2 separate regions of the Homo sapiens genome follow, and region 1 is linked to region 2. The links are contacts of gene promoters, found by promoter capture Hi-C in human tissues and cell types (Jung and others, 2019). All regions are on one chromosome and are shown on one strand. Each heading gives the region's core, a stretch centred on a gene start or on the middle of the fragment in contact. The rest is flanking DNA. Distances are from core to core; before and after follow the strand shown. Region 1 overlaps TLR6 (toll like receptor 6). Region 2 holds the start of RFC1 (replication factor C subunit 1).

What was found. Contacts are between HindIII fragments. The study calls those that stand out against the background at their distance.
Region 1: a fragment that was not itself captured here is called in contact with the fragment with the promoter of RFC1 in region 2 in 1 of the 25 tissues and cell types used here (hippocampus).

The regions. Positions count from the first base shown.
Region 1 is chr4:38,850,558-38,854,004 of GRCh38, forward strand. The region is part of intron 1 of TLR6 (toll like receptor 6); the gene reads right to left. Among named protein-coding and RNA genes, the nearest start is that of TLR6, 4.5 kb to the right of the region's middle. The HindIII fragment of the contact is 5,296 bases long and covers 1-3,447 here.
Region 2 is chr4:39,364,549-39,367,937 of GRCh38, forward strand. It overlaps RFC1 (replication factor C subunit 1), which reads right to left and starts at 1,814. Exons shown (of 25, transcript NM_002913.5): 1 at 1,691-1,814. The coding sequence starts at 1,693. RefSeq lists an enhancer at 1,736-1,855. The HindIII fragment of the contact is 2,064 bases long and covers 860-2,923 here.

The sequences.
Region 1 (3,447 bases), core at 942-3,441, 510 kb before region 2:
ATCCCACAGAAATACAAACTACCATCAGATAATACTATAAACACCTCTATGCAAATAAACTAGAAAATCTAGAAGAAGTGAATAAATTCCTCGACACCTACACTCTCCCAAGACTAAACCAGGAAGAAGTTGAATCCCTGAATAGGCCAATAACAGGCTCTGAAATTGAGGCAATAATTAATAGCCTACCAACCAAAAAAAGTCCAGGACCAGACGGATTCACAGCTGAATTCTACCAGAGGTACAACTAGGAGCTGGTACCATTCCTTCTGAAACTATTCCAATCAATAGAAAAAGAGGGAATCCTCCTTAACTCATTTTATGAGGCCAGCATCATCCTGATACCAAAGCCTGGCAGAGACACAACAAAAAAAGAGAATTTTAGACCAATATCCCTGATGAACATTAATACAAAAATCCTCAATAAAATACTGGCAAACTGAATCCAGCAGCACATCAAAAAGCTTATCCACCATGATCAAGTGGGCTTCATCCCTGGGATGCAAGGCTGTTTCAACATACGCAAATCAATAAATGTAATCCAGCATATAAACAGAACCAAAGACAAAAACCACATGATTATCTCAATAGATGCAGAAAAGGCCTTTGACAAAATTCAACAGCTCTTCATGCTAAAAATTCTCAATAAATTAGGTATTGATGGGACGTATCTCAAAATAATAAGAGCTATTTATGACAAACCCACAGCCAATAGCATACTGAATGGGCAAAAACTGGAAGCATTCCCTTTGAAAACTGGCACATGACAGAGATGCCCCCTCTCACCACTCCTATTCATATTCAACATAGTGTTGGAAGTTCTGGCCAGGGCAATCAGGCAAAAGAAAGAAATAAAGGGTATTCAATTAGGAAAAGAGGAAGTCAAATTGTCCCTCTTTGCAGATGACATGATAGTATATTTAGAAAACCCCATCGTCTCAGCCCAAAATCTCCTTAAGCTGATAAGCAACTTCAGCAAAGTCTCAGGATACAAAATCAATGTACAAAAATCACAAGCATTCTTATACATCAATAACAGACAAACAGAGAGCCAAATCATGAGTGGACTCCCATTCACAATTGCTTCAAAGAGAATAAAATACCTAGGAATCCAACTTACAAGGGATGTGAAGGACCTCTTCAAGGAGAACTACAAACCACTGCTCAATGAAATAAAAGAGGACACAAACAAACATTCCATGCTCATGGATAGGAAGAATCAATATCATGAAAATGGCCATACTGCCCAAAGTAATTTATAGATTCAATGCCATCCCCATCAAGCTACCAATGACTTTCTTCACAGAACTGGAAAAAACTACTTTAAAGTTCATATGGGGTCAAAAAAGAGCCCATATTGCCAAGTCAATCCTAAGCCAAAAGAACAAAGCTGGAGGCATCATGCTACCTAATTTCAAACTATACTACAAGGCTACAGTAACCAAAACAGCATGGTACTGGTACCAAAACAGAGATATAGATCAATGGAACAGAACAGAGCTCTCAGAAGTAATACCACACATCTACAACCATCTGATCTTTGACAAGCCTGACAAAAACAAGAAATAGGGAAAGGATTCCCTATTTAATAAATGGTGCTGGGAAAACTGGCTAGCCATATGGAGAAAGCTGAAACTGGATCCCTTCCTTACACCTTATACAAACATTAATTCAAGATGGATTAAAGACTTAAATGTTAGACTTAAAACCATAAAAACTCTAGAAGAAAACCTAGGCAATACCATTCAGGACATAGGCATGGGCAAGGACTTCAAGTCTAAAACACCAAAAGCAATGGCAACAAAAGACAAAATTGACAAATGGGATCTAATTAAACTAAAGAGCTTCTGCACAGCAAAAGAAACTACCATCAGAATGAATAGGCAACCTACAGAATGGGAGAAAATTTTTGCAATCTACTCATCCAACAAAGGGCTAATATCCAGAATCTACAATGAACTCAAACAAATTTACAAGAAAAAAATAAACAACCCCATCAAAAAGTGGGCGAAGGATATGAACAGACACTTCTCAAAAGAAGACATTTATGCAGCCAAAAGACACATGAAAAAATGCTCATCATCACTGGCCATCAGAGAAATGCAAATCAAAACCACAATGAGATACCGTCTCACACCAGTTAGAATGGCGATCATTAAAAAGTCAGGAAACAACAGGTGCTGGAGAGGACGTGGAGAAATAGGAACACTTTTACACTGTTGGTGGGACTGTAAACTAGTTCAACCATTGTGGAAGACAGTGTGGTGATTCCTCAGGGATCTAGAACTAGAAATACGATTTGACCCAGCTATCCCATTACTGGGTATATACCCAAAGGATTATAAATCATGCTGCTATAAAGATACATGCACACACATGTTTATTGTGGCACTATTCACAATAGCAAAGACTTGGAACCAACCCAAATGTCCATCAATGATAGACTGGATTAAGAAAATGTGGCACATATACACCATGGAATACTATGCAGCCATAAAAAAGGATGAGTTCATGTCCTTTGTAGGGACATGGATGAAGCTGGAAACCATCATTCTCGTAAACTATCGCAAGGACAAAAAACCAAACACCGCATGTTCTCACTCATAGGTGGGAAATGAACAATGAGAACTCTTGGACACAGGAAAGGGAACATAACACACTGGGGCCTGTCGTGGGGTGGGGGGAGGGGGGAGGGAAAGCATTAGGAGATATACGTAATGTAAATGACGAGTTAATGGGTGCAGCACACCAACATGGCACATGTATACATATATAACAAACCTGCATGTTGTGCACATGTACCCTAGAACTTAAAGTATAATAATAAAAAAAAAAGAATGCACACATTGTTCTTTCCGGAAGTTTTAACCACTGTAATAAAGAAAAAAAATGACAGGAAGAAATACTGAAATGAAGAAAGAAAATCATTATTATTTTTAGATTATAAGACTGTCAATGTGGAAAGCCAAAGAGAAGTCATTGAAAAAATGTTAGCACCAATAAAAGACTACAATAAAGTGGCCGTCACAAAATAAATTATTATCATTACTATTTTCTTAAACACTTTCTTTTTAAGAGACAGGGTTTTGTCCCACTGCCCAGGCTGGAGTGCAGTGGCACAATCATAGCTTAAGGTCCTGGGCTCATGCCATCCTCTCACCTCAGCCTCCCACGGAGCTGGGGTTACAGGTACAAGCCACTGCTCCTGGCAAAAATAAATTCTATTTTGAAAACAAATCCCTCAATTATCCAAAAATAGCAGGTTATCAAATAAATTTTAGTATCTCTGTATAATTAAATAGTACTATGTAGCCTTTAAAAATAATAAAAATCGAATTGCATGAAAATATTTTCACTATATGTGACAAAAAGCAGTTTATTTAAAAAGTACCAAAGTAAATATGTACCTATGCAAGTAGAAAAATTAATAAGATACATACCAAGATA
Region 2 (3,389 bases), core at 564-3,063:
ACCTGAATGATCAAAAGTTGACCACACAAGCTATGTTCACCATAAATGACAGAGGAATCTACCATGCCTCTTAAAATCTATGTAACTTTCCATAGAGTCCTTTCTGAGAAAATAGATCACTGGTAGCTGTGTAGTTGCCTAACATGCCAGGCACCAGAACCAGAACGGAAGCTTTACCTATACATCTTGCTTAATCCCCAAAACAATCACTATGGCAGCTATTATTTTCCCCTCTTTTACAGATAAGGAAACAGAGGCTTAAAGAGATTAAACTTAAGCTATTTACTTGCCCAAGACCACGTAACTATTAAACTAGACTATACTAACATAGTAATATAACTATAAATTAATATATAAACCATTAAACTAAAATATTACCACGTTCTTCATCTTCAAGACTCCAAGTCTCAAGCTTCCAAAATACCACAGTGCTTTGGCCTCCAAAATGTAATGATGATCATTATAGGGAAGTAGTATAACATGGTGGTCAGAAACACCAAGATTCTAATTCTAGTTCAACCACCTACTAGTTATATGATACACTGTTTAAATTCCAAAAAGGTGCTTGCACCATCTGTAAAACTGCATCGATGTGGGTTGAAATGAAAAAAAAAAAAAAAAAAAAAAACCATGGAAAACCAACAGTTCACATATTGACCTAAAGAAGATGCTTGGTACAAGGTAGCTACTATCATTACTGTTGCCCTTTTTTGAGAAGAAACACAAAGGCCTGCAACGTTTCCCAGTGTGGCATAAAATTTTCACCGCCCCCCCCCAGAATGTTGTCACTGTGACACGTTGACCAATGATTGAAAAAAATTATATCGGATTGTTAAGTATCTTCTAGCTTAATGAACATTTTAAATGGTCCTTTAAAAATATTTCAAACACAGAGCCATATCCATTGCCATACCATCAGGAATGTCTGCTTTGCTGGCTGCATAATCATTTCACTTTCAATTTGTTTGAACATTTTATCCAGAATTATGCAGTGAGGCTTGGGTTTTTTTCAGATTTTAAACATCAGGTGGTAAGAGGATGACAGCTGTCAAATGTCTTGCATCTGTTTCTATTCGCTGTACTTCTTTTTCCTAGTAAGCCATGTTATCCTTTTGACTCCTATGAACTCATCTAAACAAAATAAAATATCCTCTCCATGCCCTCGGTCTCAACACCGCTCAGGTGATCGTTAATGACGAGCGGAGATGAGACGAGCTGAGCTGTTAATGATAAAAGTTTAAGGCCCTACACAACATATTCCCTAAGAAAGAAAAGTTTGTTACATTCTTCTCCCTCGTGACCCAAAGCTTGAAATCCACGCTTTAGGCAGTACTCAAACTGAGGTTCGGGCAACGCCGAACAAGAAAATAACTTTACCAATGCGTCCCAAAACCACCATCCTTCCTCTCTTCCTTTCTCCCTTCCCCCAAGAGTGGGGGGCGGGGGGAAAGTGCAAGTACACGTAGCAACAAAATCCCTGCGCGCTGGCTGCCGCCCAGAGCCAGAGCCCGCGATGCAATGAAAGTTTTGCGTCCAGTGCCCGGTGTGCGGCCCCTTCTCTGCCTTTGCTAGCCTCCGGAACCACCCACCGCCATCCTCCCCCACCCTGCATACCAGGAGTGCCCGGTCCACACCAGGCCTGCAAAGCCCCCCCAGACCCCGAGCCGCACGGCCTCCCCCAGCGGCTCACCATCGCAGCCCCAGGATGAAGGCGCTGGCTGGCTGGCGGGTGGGCCGGTTGAGGAATCTGTTATCGAGGCTCAGGATCCATTCGCGCCAACAACTTCTCCCGCGAAGTGCAAGAAGGCGAAGACAGTGGCGCGCGGTGATGACGTCAGGAGGCGCGAGCTTTGCTTCCGTCCCGCCCAGAGGCGGGAGGTGCGACGCCTGCCCAGGTGCTGCCCCGAGGGCAGGCGGGCCGCTGACATCGAGAGGAACCACGGTGCTTTGGTGTGAGCTCGGTTTTTGGCGGGGGCGCTAAAGTAGGGGGATCCGATATTGGTTTCCTTGGCAGGCGGGGTACCCAAGTACCTCCCGGTTACACGTCTGGACAATGCACTTCCCTATAGTAACTTTGAAAAGTTTTTACTACCAACTTTAGTAAGATAAATGTTTTAGCTGTGCGTTTTACATATTATGTATAAATATCTATTCTGTAATAAGGTTTCATCAAGAGGCCGGACGCGGTGGCTCACCCCTCTAATCCCAGCACTTTGGGAGGCCGAGGCGGGTGGGTCACCTGAGGTCAGGAGTTCGAGACCACCTGACCAATGTGGTGAAACCCCGTCTCTACTAAAAATACAAAAATTAGCCAGGGGGTGGTGACGTGTGCCTGTAGTCCCAGCTACTCGGGAGACTGAGACAGGAGAATTGCTTGAACCCAGGAGGCAGTGGTGCAGTGAGCCGAGATCGAGCTACTGCCCTTTAGCCTGGGCGACAGAGCGAAACTCCGCCTCAAAAAAAAGAAAAGATACCGAAAGCTTTGGGGTAAACCAGTTGTATATGAATAGATTAGCAATTGAATCACGGAATACAATGAAACATTTGCGTACGATTTCAAGAGAAAGATTAGACCATAAAGAGTTCAATGGAGAAAGCAGTATCTCCAGCTTTGGCTCTAGCTACACTTTTGAAATTCTCACCCATCCACCCCCTGTTGGGTCTTGCGCTTTATGACACCAACATTTCTATGGCGAAAGATAGAACAGCCTGGAATACAACAGAGGCTGAGCATTGACAGCTTGTATTTATTAAACGCCTATTGTTGTACGTGCAGCTCTGGACTAGCCTAGCTCATTTTATCCCCATGATGACACTGACTACTCTTATCCCGAATTTACAGACAGACTGTTACTTATTAACAGGGCCTCACTGCACTGTTCCCTCTGAAGCCAGGATGCTAGGTCTCCAGCCCCACCACCTGCTATTTATGTGACCAAGGGCAAGTTACTGTGCCTCGGTTTTGTCTTAGCAGACATATCACACAAATTTTTGCCCATAATTTTAGAGGACCTACACCAATTTATAATGTTCATTGTGTTATAAATCAATAAATGAGTAAATAAGACATAAAAAGTTGTACGTGTCTTTTATATTACATTCCTCTTAACTTTTGCTTTTTTTTTTTTTTGGCATTTGAAGCCTTCCTTGAGTTTAAATGAGACTTAAGTCAGGAGACTGTAACTTCTTTGTGAGATTGTTTTCTTTAGGAATATTTATTTACATGAAAATACTCTATCTCAGAAATATACCAGATCTAAAATGACTGCATATGCTTTGAAACTCCTCCCTTGAACCTGGACTGGCCTATGACTGATTTGATCAAAGAATACAATGGAAGTGATACTATGCCAACTCCAGACCTAAGCTTTAAGAAGACTGGCAGCTCC